Regions from separate parts of the Homo sapiens genome. Here regions 2, 3 and 4 are each linked to region 1. Evidence: promoter capture Hi-C in 16 types of primary human blood cells and fetal thymus (Javierre and others, 2016). All regions are on one chromosome and are shown on one strand. Each heading gives the region's core, a stretch centred on a gene start or on the middle of the fragment in contact. The rest is flanking DNA. Distances are from core to core; before and after follow the strand shown. Region 1 holds the start of METTL21C (methyltransferase 21C, AARS1 lysine). Region 2 has its middle 35 kb from the start of ERCC5. Region 3 has its middle 33 kb from the start of TPP2. Region 4 overlaps BIVM (basic, immunoglobulin-like variable motif containing).

Region 1 (3,226 bases), core at 480-2,979:
TCAGACTTCTTGGTTCCTTCTCACACCTGCAAACAAGAATTGCCAGAGCCTGGAGTTGACGCATGTTAAAGCTTCCGGGTGATTTGGACATAGCCTCTGCCTACAGGTAAGTCCAGCATTTAAGAGCCTTTGATCTACCGTGGTCTAGCTCCAGGCAATAGAGCTCTGATGTATATCTTAAAGCAGCTATCTAAAAGATGGCTTTGAAGAAAGTATTAAAAAGGAACTGTTTTTTAAATTATTTATTTATTTATTTTTATTATACTTTAATTTCTGGGGTACACATGCAGAATGTGCAGGTTTGTTACATAGGTATACACGTGCCATGGTGGTTTGTTGCACCCATCAACCCATCATCTACATTAGGTATTTCTCCTAATGCTCTCCGTCCCCTAAGTCCCCCACCCCCTGACAGGCCCAGGTGTGTGATGTTCCCCTCCCTGTGTCCATGTGTTCTCATTGTTCGACTCCCACTTATGAGTGAGAACATGTGGTGTTTGGTTTTCTGTTCCTGTGTTAGTTTGCTGAGAATGATGGTTTCCAGCTTCATCCATGTCCCTGCAAAGGACATGAACTCATCCTAAAAAGGAACTCTTAATAGGATGCTAGGTTAAAGAGGTACATGTTTCTATCAAGTCACATTTTCAGTAAAATAGCTTTAAAAAAGTTTATACAAAAAAAATAAGCCTAGAAGTTGATACAAAAAAAAAAGTTGGTGAGGTTTCTTTCTCTAGATAGTAGAATTAAAGGAGATCAACATTTTTTCCTTCGTCCTTTGCTTCATTTTAAAGCTTGTAGAATGAACGCATATGTTTGTCTATGTGTGTGTCTACATGCATATAAATATACACACATATATTCACGTACATTGCAATCAGTTTTTAAAAGGTTTTTGTAGAATTGTACTGATGACTATCTTTTTGCTATTTCTCATAGGGACTGATGACACCTGGAAGAAATAAGTTGCAGAGATGCAGAATGCAATCATAGAACTAGATGCATTTGGGGAATAAGAAAGCATTAGAACGATAGAGCTGGAACAAATGCCGGCTTATCCCCAGTCATTTAAGAAAGTGGGAAAGGTGATTTACATGGGACCACAGCACATCTAGATGAACATCCTGAGTGAAAAGAAACTGACATAAAGAACACAAAATAGTGACACCAGAGAAACGAGTACCGAGGGTGGGTACAAAAACAAAAATGGGCTTTTATATCTACTCAGGTTAAAACACCATTCATCCAACTCCCTGGTTGAATGTAGCCTATCACAAGTGATTCTTTAATTCCCATTTGTCTGAGGCTTTACTTTGTGTGACCTATATTCTATTTTAAGGGTTTCTGAGCTTCACAAATGAGCACATGATTTTTCTCCTTCCCTTTTGACTATCCCTTATTTCAGTTAAATAAATCACAATGGCTTACTTTTTCTTGGAAGAGTTTTTCTGATTTCCTCTTCCCTCTGCTCTAAATCCCCCAGATTCAACGTTAAGCCTTTGACTCCCGTCCCTTCTCATGGATAGATGCTCTCCTTTCTTCCTCCCCAAAGCATTCCCTTCCTCTTGGTAGATCCTTGTGTTCTTTCTGGCTGCCTGGATACGGGTCCTAGGCAGAGGCTGGGTGGGCATGTCCTCCCTGTGGCTACTGGAGTTTGGCAAATGAGCACAAAATTTGCAAGTCTGTGCAACTGTCCAACACCCACTTCTTTGAAAAGTGAACTGGAAGTCTAACGTTTCGAACCACATCGCAGCAACTGGATGCCACAGGGGCAGCCTCTGTTCTGTTCCAGTGATATTCCTGAAACTTTTGAAGGGAATTCCATTGAATGTTGCTAGGACTGTGCGTGTGTGTGTGTGTGTGTGTGTGTGTGTGAGAGAGAGAGAGAGAGAGAGAGAGAGAAAGAGAGAGAATTCTAGCAAAGTAATGTGTCTATGAGGACTGGTAGATAATGCTACCCTAAATAACTTGGGCTTCCACTGGCTGGATTTTGTTCATCAAATGCTAATCCTTTCAGGTGTAGACCTATATAAAACACTGGGGATTAAAGAGTGCACAGAAGCCTCACATCTCTTCTGCTGCATAAGGTAAAGATACGTGTAACAATTCAAAATTATTTTGGGCATACTAACAAGGAGTCATTTCCAATTCTGTATTAATTACGAACATGCGATGTAGATCATAGATGTGCTGAACTAGTAACAGTCAGTCAGTAGATTATAGTCGTTCTTTTGTAGATTGCTTTTCAATGCACAGCTGTCTTTGGGACAGCCGGCTATGGACGTGTGTCTGAGCTCCGCGCAGCAGCCTGGGCGCCGGGGGGAAGGACTCAGCTCCCCGGGTGGCTGGTTAGAGGCTGAGAAGAAGGGGGCTCCGCAGAAAGACAGCACCGGGGGAGTCCTAGAAGGTAACCTCCTTCTTCATCACTTCAACAGTTTTCCTCAGTTGTTTTCCTGGCGATGACATCTTCAAGTAAATTTCAGTGACAAGAATTTCCATTTCCTTTTAACATTAGATTTTTTGCTATAATGAAGCTTAGCAGAAAAATGTTTTGCAAGTATAAACATAATTCCTGTTTTTTCATTATTTACTTATTAAAAGTAATTCCTGGTTTTTCATTACTTATCAAAGTTTGCACATTTGTTTTTTTTCTATGTATAGATCTAAGCTTGCTGTATTTTTGTAACAAGAACTTAAAAGAAGAACAAAAAATCTAGGTTCATTTCTGCTTTTCACCAAAATACATTCTTGGTAGCTTTGTCATACAGTGAATCTTTATAAATCAAACTGTATTTCCCCGTTAGGACAATGTAACAGTTTAGGGTTACATTTCTGGGCATGGATTCAGTTGTAAATAAATAATAGACATAACAAATGATCTAATAAAAGCCAAGATGCAGCATTTACAGTGTTCATAATTAAAGGTGGTAAAAAATGTATCCCAACTCCAATAAATGAGAATGTTGTCTATTTTTACTGCATTGTTTACGTAAAAATGCAACTCTACCTTATCTGAAAATCTGATCTCTCTAAAACTATCAGAATAGCACAGAGAATAAATGAAAATATTTCAGGCACAAAAACATATGTTTCTTTATCGTTGTAGAACCTCACAGGGTCTTATGAGAGAATACGTGTATGTCTATGTTTCCTTACAATGTTGATTGGAAAAGTGCAGCTGTCAAGCTTAATATTTGTCAGTTTATTTACCTGTGAAATGATGAGCCAT
Region 2 (3,226 bases), core at 462-2,961, 190 kb before region 1:
TATGTCTTGAAGGCCCTAAACTGACAAGAGGTAGTAAGTAGGATGTCAAGTAAGCAGCTGACGTGACAGACTCGAGGGTCATTGAGAGCCAGAATCACTGAGCCTTGGGCAAGGATGAATCTGCCCCAAGGCTGCAGGTCCTCCGGTGACCCTACTATTCTATAACAGATTGCTACGTGTACTAACAGCTGGAGAGAGGCTGCTGGCATGAGGCAGGCAACATAGGATATTTAGAATAGTTAATGTGGGTAAGGTTTTAGACACCTTAGATTACAATATAGCCTTAGAAACACATACAGAAGAATTTTTTAGCACCCACCATAGCCCTAATTTTAATCTGTGTATAAATAAGTGACATCCTATAGTTCTTGGATCTTCATGCCAGTGTTGAAATATGAGCACTGAGCTATGGGTTTGCTCCATCCTTTCCAAGCACAGGATTCTAAGTATAAAAGAGGGCAGGAAAAGTCAGTATCCTTCAGTACTTGAGAACTGAGTGTTCCTCTACTTGGTGATGGCTTTCCAACTAAATGCCACCTGATCTGCTCCAAGGGCACATCCTTAATTCCCTTAGCTCTGTGTGTGTGAACACATTTTTAAAGCTTCATTTGGCTATATAGATGATTACAGAGTGTGTTTGTTTGTGTTGTAAAACATTGTAATGCTAGTTCCGTCTCAACCTTACCTTGAACTTCTTCCACTTCCTTTGTAATTTGCCAAATTATCTTCTACACAGTTGAAACCAAGAATTGTTACTAATGGTAATGATAATGATATAATTTTATTCATAAACCATACAGAAATTGCGTCTTCATTCAAATCATCTAAATGGCTGGGTTCTCTAAGTGATCGACTTAAATGGTTAGGTTTGCAAGAATCGCTTGGTAAAACTATTTGTGTTTAAGCCAGGTAGGCTGCCAACACTGGGCATACACCCAGCTTTCTTGGCCTAAAGATGTGTTCTCCTAGGTAGAAGCCACCTGGAATGGCCAAAAACAGAAAAACCAGAACTATAGTGTTCAGAAAACATCTACAGTGTGTGCAGATAAGGAGAGAACAAAAGAAATCAAGATATTTAGATTTGTATTACAACTGCTCTACAAAAATATGGTAATTTTTCTAGTCTGTCAAGAGTGTATGTCTGTACTTTTGATCTCAAGACAATGGGGACAGTTATATTACATAACCCATGCAAAGTCACGCTTGATACTTAAGACTATATAAAAATGATGGTTCAATTTCAAATAACCACACTGATAGTAGAATTCAAACTTAATCTCTTTACATCCAGAGGTCAAATTACATTATGTATTTGCCTCTAATAAATAGTTAGAGGAACCATAAACTCAGGCTACAGATGTCTGTATAGCCTAAATTCACCTTTCATCCAACCACCAGTAAAAACTTATAGTTTTCACATAAAACTATTTTTATCTTTCTTGCAAGCTTCTTATCTGAAATAAAATTTGCTTAGAAATCACATCATACATTTAGTGTACAGCACTTGAGAAAAAAATGTATTCCTTATTTGAAGATCAAAAACCCTGTACATGCTTAGTAAGTCTATATATTTAATTTAATCTGTCAAAAGTATCTTTAACATATCATCAAGATCATGGTATAGTAATAGACTTAAACATGATTCAAGATGTTTGCAGGCTCACAAATATAAACCAAGACATAATATGCCATTGATAAAAGTGTCAGCTCCATTTAAGACATTAATGAATACTACAAAGGTGACACTTTATATTCTATTAGTTATTTGTCTTCTTAGAATTGGTAAGCTACATAAACATAAAATGACTTACCTTCTTGAGCTTCTGAATCCATCAAGTAATGAAATGATGGTAGGTGATATATTGATGTTTTCTTCATTATTTCTTGAAAACTAGATAGATAATACATTAAAATATCAAATGGTAATAATTCAAAATATGTATGGAGTGCTTTTATAGTTTCTTAATAAAGCTTAACTTCAAATACAGCAGACAAAATTATATTAAAATATCATATATTAACGAAGCGTGACTTAAGAAAGACCATCTAAACACTATCTAGAACAAATTAAAATCAGAACAAAAGCTTCTGAGTCAGAAATTTTAAAAAGCTACTACAGAAAGAAAACATATTCTTCACCAGAGACTACCTCAGTTGTAACAAAGAAAGGCATCATCTTCATATTGACTAGTAAGACTGCAATCCTAAAATTTAAGAGGCGATTAAAACATTGAAAGTTCACTTGTTACCATCAATGCATCATTAGCACCTATGCAATGTCAAACAGCCTCATTGCCAGATAATCTTTTGAGCAGCGTCTACCTTAAGGAGTCCATACCATCACAGCCGATATATTTAAAACTGAAGAAACTATTTATGCCTCTTGAATAGAGCAGATTATCTGAATAAATTTAACAGTTATTCAAACTTTAGAAAATAACGATTTGATATTTTACTTCTCAATCTGGGGTAAAATAACAATTGCAGTACCATGAATTAATATAGCACTCCTTTCTTCCGAGAATCCCAAAGCACATTTTACAGCCACCACATTTTCTTTTACAGCATACTTCAGCAAGTTAGAAGACATTATTTTCCCTACAGTTTGCAAATCAGGAAAACCAAGGTTAAATTATGTCATTGAGGCTACACAGCTAAAACGATAGCAAAAGTGGTCACATGTTTTGCTCCCAATTTAGATCTCTTCCATTAAAGAAAGACATGTCTGCCTTAAGGCTGATATTTAAATGGAAAGCCTGGACATACCTAAAGGAGTTAGCTGAGTTTCTAGAAGGTTAAAATGTATCATCCACAATTTTTGTTTTTGCTGCTGGGACCTCTGGTAGTGACTGAAAGGCTAGCATCGCAGCACAGTTTACTACTATACACACTCGCTACCACTGGTAACGAGTCCAGGCAGAAGGGATTAGGATTCTGACAGCTGCAGCTCCCACGCCTCTGGTTATACAGCAGTGAGACGGCAATGCCCGTAACTAAGGGGGCAGAAGGCTAGGAATATCCCACGAGTGTCTCGTGAACAGAGCTAAAGGTGAATACAACCCACTCCCGGAAGTGAGTGAAGACTATTTGGAGGAAGTGATCCAGCTTTTAACTTGGATGCCAAGAGTTATTCTAAGACTCCGTGGCTATGACATTCTAGGAAATGAACGCTACATATTTTTCATGTCACCTATCTGCATGGGAACACTGTCTTTAGACTCCAACA
Region 3 (3,226 bases), core at 341-2,840, 130 kb after region 1:
TTGCTTCTGACTGTCTTCCTTCTGTCCTTTCACATATTCAATTATCTTAAAATCAATCCACCATGGCGTCTGAACTTCTCTTTGTTTCTTCATCATAAACACTCATCTATTTGCCTTTAATTCCATCCCCCATCTCTTCCTTGGCTCTACTCTGCTCTTGCAACCCTAGTGTTTCAGATCTTACATAACAGTCAGTCCCTCCTCTAGCTTTTGAGTGAAAGAAGTCACCTCGTAGGGGTAGATGTGGTTTCCTTGGCACTGGGCTTGGTTAAAGGATGCTGTCTTTGTACAAATTAGGATACAGTCCTGAGTTTGGATGGCACATAGTTCGGCTGAAAAAGCATGGGCTGAGTGCCCGTACCACTTCCCACCTTAGTTGGGTGTCCTTGCTCAGGGCCAGGCAGCCCTAGCTTGGGTCAGCTACCTAATTTTCAGGGTTTCTTTGCTGCTCTACCTCCTGTGGTATCTATTTGCTTATTTCTCTGAACTTAGAACCTAGTGATCTTGTGAGCACGCCAGGTAGCAAAATGCCTCTTGTACCGAAGATTCCACTAGTCTTTTTCCAGTTGTCTGGCATTGCTCCTAAACATTTCTTCATTATGTGCCTGATGTGTTTATTACAATTTTATTTGTAAGAGTAAAACATTGGAAACAAACTGGCTATCTGGCTATTAGAGAATGAGTAAATGATTCACTTGATGTCATGATAAAATAACAATTTTGAAGTTTTGGGACAATTGTTAATGATAAATGCTAAATTAAAAAAATTCTTTAAAATCTATGTATACTATGATTGCTCCTATGTAAAAATGTGTGTATAAGATTATTTGAAAGACATACTTAAATTGTTATTAGTTATTGTATTATGCAGTTATGAGTGGGTTTTTCTTCATTCTCTAACCTTTTTTTGGAGAACATTACAAAAATCTAATGTCTTGGATTTTTCCAAAAATGCTCATTTTGGAATATAAAAATAAAGTATTTCCTTTAAATTGATTTTCTTATTTTTAAAAAGGCTCTATTAAGTTGCATATCTATTAGTTGCCAATATAATGACTAATGAATAGTTGTTTATAAGCTATATGAAGTATAGAATCTCATAAAACATTGTTGTCTTACAGTGTTGCAACTCCAGCTTGAGGGTGTAGAATTTAGTATACTCAATTCAGACTGTAAAAGTATAAGTTGGATTTGGATAGATATTGCAGAATCTTAACTTAATCACAAAAAGCTGTGTAAGAAGTTACGTCTGCTAAGTTATTTTTCTGTAAGAAGCTGCTCAGGGAATGGCTCACATTGAATCATCCTGGAAGAAGCTCTCAGCCCTTGTACTTGATATCATAAGGCCAACTGCTGTTGCAAGCCCAAGAAAGGTAATTCTACCTTCTTAGTTAAGGGATTAAAGTGCATCCTTGAAAAGGTTTTCAAGTAAGAATAGAAATGATAAATAAATTTATAATTTTGTGGAAGTTGGATACACATAGGTATTACAGTAAGTTCTCTAGCTAGTCTATTCTTTGCCTGTTTTTTCTTTCTCTGCTTTAAAATATTTAAAGTAGTTAAAAGAGTGAGTTTCAAAATATATCCTTAGACTCCTTAGGTTGTCCAAGACCCTTTCAGGGGATCCTTGCGGTCAAGACTATTTTCATAATATAAGTTGCTATGTGCTTCCCCCTTCACATGTTATTTGCCTGTTAGGAGCCTGCAACTTTTAAGAAAACAACCGACAGTTTTTTGCCAATCATAAAGTTTCAGTTTTCAAGATAAAATTAGATACTTGAGTCTGTCACTGTGAGTTCAACACTTTCCCAGCACTTACTGAGACTGGGGGTGATACTGACACACTTTTTTTTTTTTTGATATTTTGAAGTAAAATGTGTCCACATTTGGAAGAAGTAATTAACTCAGTGAACCAATATATTCCAAATGACCAATGCATGATGTTATAAAATCATACATAGGTAAAAAATCTATTTTAATCGCAAGAAAGACCATTGGATTTTAATGTCACAGAGTACAAAAGGTTCATTAATATGATTTCAGATTCCACATTGCGACTAACTTTTACTAAACTATCACTTACGGAATTCTGGTGTAGTATCAAAGAAGAATAGCCGTAATTATTTGAAAAGATAATTAAAAATACTCCTACCTTTTCCAAATACTTGTCTCTGTTAATCTGAATGTTCTTTATATACTTTAACCAAAACAACATGTTACAATATATTGAATACAGAAACAGATATAAGAACCTAGCAAAGCTATCCTTCAAAAATGAGGGAGAAATAAAGTATTTCCCAGACAAGCAAAACCTGAGGGAATTAATTATCGCTAGATCAGCCTTACAAGAAATGCTCGAGGGAATACTACATTTGAAGTCAAAGATTATATCACCTTCATGAAAACATACAGAAGTATAAAGCTCACTGATAGAGCAGATAAACAAGGGATAGAGAGAAAGAAAACCCTTATAATTCCAGAAAACCACAAAACCACAATGATAAACACAAAAGAAAGAAGAAAGGAAAGAGGGATATATAAAACAATCAGAAAACAATAAGATGACAGGAGTAATTTATCATCTATCAACACTAATCTTGAATATAAATGAATTAATCTTCCACTTAAAAGGTATAGACTGGGTGAATGGATAAAAAAAATGACCCAATTATATCGTACTACAAGAAACTCACTTCGCCTATAAAGAAACATGTAGACTGAAAATAAAAGGATAGAAAAAGATATTTCAAAAAACCAGAAACCAAAAGCAAGCAGGAGTAGCTATATTTATTTGACATAATGTAGACTTTAAGTCAAAACTGTATAAAGAGATAAAGAAGTTCATTATGTAATGATAAAGGGATCAATTCAGCAAGAAGATATAACAACTGTAAATATATATGCACCCAACACCAGAGCACCCAGATATATAAAGCAAATACTAGAACTAAAGGGAGAGACAGACTATGATTCAATTATAGTTGGGGACTTCAACATCCCACTCTCAGCATTGGGCAGATCATCCAGACAGAAAATCAATAAAGAAACGTTGGTTTTAAACTGTACTTTAGACCAAATGGACCAACAGCTGCAGAATACACATTCTTTTCATTAGCACATGGAACATTCTCCAGGACAGACCACATGTTAGGCCACAAAACAAGTCTCAACAAATTTACAAGGAGTTAAATCATATGAAGTATTTTTTTCTGAACACAATGGGATA
Region 4 (3,226 bases), core at 427-2,926, 130 kb before region 1:
TCAAAAGAAAAATAATATTTTGTGACATGTGAAAATTATGTGATATTCAAATTTCAGGTCCATCAGTAAGGTTTTCCCAGGACACCACCATATCCATTTGTTTACATGTTGTCTATGGCTGCCTTCAAGATCCAAGCAGCTGCATCAAGCAGCTGTGACTGCCCCAGAACCATGTGTCTCTCAAAGCCAAGAATATTTACTATCAAGCCTTTTATGTAAAAACATTTGCCAACTACTGCTCCTCTAGGTTAATGATTTTCAGTACCGACACATCCAGGTGGTTATACAAGATGACCCCCTTTGTGGGCACAGAAACAAAATATTAGAACATTTATTTATAGTGACCCTCATATTTTAAAAAGAAATTAAGCTTTACTAGTATTTATTCTGTGGATTGAGTGTGGATGCTGTCTACACTATACAACCCTACATCCAAAGGTCCCAGGTCACACATGTGCTATCCTGAGAGAGGGGCAGGAACTCCACATGGTGGTGCCAGCTCAGGTTGCTAATTACTGTGCCTTGACACCCCTTACCCTCTCACTTGCTTTCACTGAACTGCTATGTATTCAGTTTACAGGGTGCAAAATGTCATTGGCAGACATTTTATAAAACTTTTAATGAACACAACTGACAGAATCATTATTATACCTTCTAATAACTGGAGAATGACCATAAAAATCTTTTGGACCAGAAAAAGGTTTGGCACATCCTGTGGAAGTAAACATTCAAGAACTATAAAAGACAATGCCAAATTATGCATTTTCTTTTCATGGCACACGAAGACACCTCAAATAAGATCCAGAAGAAACAAGAGACAGCAAAATCAGATATATACACATTTCCTACATTACACCAAATACAGAGGAAAAAGTTTCAATAGATTTAAAAAATAAAAGGGTTTGAAAATATGAGTAAGGAATGAGGTTATTTTTAAAAGCAGATTTTTAAAAGAACTACATATTTTAGAATAAAAATGATTGAAAACCTCTTTTAAAAAACTCAAACTCAATAGGCAGTATAAAAAGCAAACTAGACACAGCTGAAGAGAAAATTACCAAACAGGATAATATATCCTTTCTTAGTTTTTCGTTGCCTGATCACTTACTGAGAGTAGTGTGGTGACAGTCTCACTAGAAACAGAAATAAATAGCAACACAGCATTTAAAGCTGTGTTTTCCAGAAGGATAGACAGGCCCCATGTGAATGCATAGAATTTAGTCAGTAGGAATAAATGCTAGCACTTACTGAGTCCTTACTCTGTAACACAGCGTGCTAAGTACATTACAAGTATGTCTCCTTTTATCCTCACACTGACCCTATACAAATATAGAAAGATAAAAGGTCTACATCAAGGCTCAGCAAGTGACTTGTTCAAGGTCACAAAACTAGTATGTGTAGAAAGCAACATGTAATCTCCAAGCCTGCCTCCAAGTAACCAACCTGATATACCCAATATAGGTCAACAGAAATATATCTGACTTTGTGCTCAGTCTTTTACCTTGGTAAACCATATACCCTCTATTGATAACAATTCTCTTCCTGATTAATCCTTGAGTCCTCTTCTCAAACAGGCCTGGACCTTAGACTTCTGTGTCCAGTTTTAGCATGAATCCTGCTAAGTCAGTTTAGAGAGAACCCACAACCCTTAATATCTAATCAAGTTCCTTACGGACGTCCCCTGCCAACTCCTGATGTCTCAGCCCTTGACCTGCCTTTAGCAAGAAGTCTGTTAGGCTTTAGCAAGAATCCCCATACCCTTGACCCTCTTAGTAATATCCCACCCCCAAACCCCTCGCTGTGTCCCTTGGCTATAAAGTCCCAGTTGTCTTTGTTGTCTTTGCTGTATTCAGAGCTGAGCCTGATCTCTCATTCCTACTACAATAGGCCTTTCACAAGTTTAAAATAAAGTCTTCTCACCCTATTAACAAGTGTCAGAATAATTTTTTCTTTAACAATGTATTACAATTTTCTGATTTACACAGTCAAAAGATTGTAACAATTTTAAAAATGGAAATTGCTAAATAGTACAAATTATTTAATTAGCACATAACTAAAATAATCCTTGAGATCAACTCCATTAATATTTCTGTTATAAACAAGACTATTTTATAGCAGAACTTTGTCACTTCAACAGTCTATTTTCCTGCCATTATATGTCACCACACAGGTCTAACATCAAATATTCTCAAATCCTTACATTCCTTCTTAGGAAGAAAACTGCTAACTCCATGCTGCTTCCTTAGAGTTTTACTAGCATGTGCGCGTACACACGCACATACATACACACACAAACACACACACACACCACGGACCCAAACAATACAATGTGTTAGAGTAGTGTTTGTGATATACCTTAAAGTTCTAAAGGTTCTACATAAAAAGGTTAGAAGAGGTAAAATATTAAACTGCTTATTAAAAAGTGCCCTACAGATTACATGCAAGTAACAGACTGTGCTGAGGGTTTACATAATGTCCCAGGAAGCTAAACAGGCAGTCTTTGAGACGAACTCTAAACCGTGTGTGTGTATGTGTGTGTGTGCATGTGTGTATGTGTGTATGTAAATCTTCTATATGTTTACCTACCAGTTTCTCCTGCTGTTTTATTCTTCCCATGAGGCTTATATAGAACATAAGAGCATCCTTTTACATGGAAGTGGTCATTAATTTGTCTAAACCACCTGAAAGTAACAAGAAGATTTGTTCATGGCAACAATTCTACAACAAAGATGGCATTATTCCAATTCTAAAGAAATTCAGGCATAGCCCAAAGTTGGTATACCTATGAGAGGTTGAAGCCCAGCAGCTGGATACATGGTTTACTATCAACACACATCTACATCATTATTATTTTGCAAAACTAGAAACACGATATTGCCTCTAAGAGGGTCTTCATACCTCATAAGTGTTGTATTCCCCGTGAAAGGACCAAACCTAATATCTTCAAATGGAGGTTGAAAGCCCAGAATATGTAAAGCTTCTTCTTGGGTAATAGGTGGAAGGCTACAAAAGAAACATTCATTGCCTTTCATTTTTCAATTCCAGTCATACGCAAATACAGCCTGTCTCAATGTTAATATGCTTGTCTGATTTGCAAATAATATTAGTAATATTTTTCATTATTTTATTTTATTTATTTTTTTAGAGACAGGTTCTCACTCTGTGGCCCAGGCTGGAGTGCAGTGGCGTGATCATAGCTCACTGCAGCCTTAAACTCCTGGGCTCA

The links. Contacts are between HindIII fragments. The CHiCAGO score rates a contact against its expected background, and 5 or more counts as called.
Region 2: a fragment that was not itself captured here is called in contact with the fragment with the promoter of METTL21C in region 1 in 3 of 17 cell types (naive CD8 T cells, naive CD4 T cells and total CD8 T cells); the score reaches 6.5 in naive CD8 T cells.
Region 3: a contact is called between a fragment that was not itself captured here and the fragment with the promoter of METTL21C in region 1, in 1 of 17 cell types (non-activated CD4 T cells). The highest score is 5.6, in non-activated CD4 T cells.
Region 4: a fragment that was not itself captured here is called in contact with the fragment with the promoter of METTL21C in region 1 in 2 of 17 cell types (naive CD4 T cells and total CD8 T cells); the score reaches 5.9 in naive CD4 T cells.

Annotation. Positions count from the first base shown.
Region 1 is chr13:102,693,547-102,696,772 of GRCh38, reverse strand. It overlaps METTL21C (methyltransferase 21C, AARS1 lysine), which reads left to right and starts at 1,729. Exons shown (of 4, transcript NM_001010977.3): 1 at 1,729-2,404. The coding sequence starts at 2,275. The HindIII fragment of the contact is 1,740 bases long and covers 794-2,533 here.
Region 2 is chr13:102,879,753-102,882,978 of GRCh38, reverse strand. It overlaps the pseudogene METTL21EP. Among named protein-coding and RNA genes, the nearest start is that of ERCC5, 35 kb to the right of the region's middle. The HindIII fragment of the contact is 525 bases long and covers 1,449-1,973 here.
Region 3 is chr13:102,561,999-102,565,224 of GRCh38, reverse strand. No RefSeq gene overlaps it. Among named protein-coding and RNA genes, the nearest start is that of TPP2, 33 kb to the left of the region's middle. The HindIII fragment of the contact is 4,044 bases long and covers 1-3,226 here.
Region 4 is chr13:102,821,520-102,824,745 of GRCh38, reverse strand. BIVM (basic, immunoglobulin-like variable motif containing) reads right to left here. Exons shown (of 11, transcript NM_017693.4): 6 at 2,899-3,003; 7 at 2,587-2,681. It overlaps BIVM-ERCC5 (BIVM-ERCC5 readthrough), which reads right to left. Exons shown (of 23, transcript NM_001204425.2): 4 at 2,899-3,003; 5 at 2,587-2,681. Among named protein-coding and RNA genes, the nearest start is that of BIVM-ERCC5, 16 kb to the right of the region's middle. The HindIII fragment of the contact is 2,607 bases long and covers 373-2,979 here.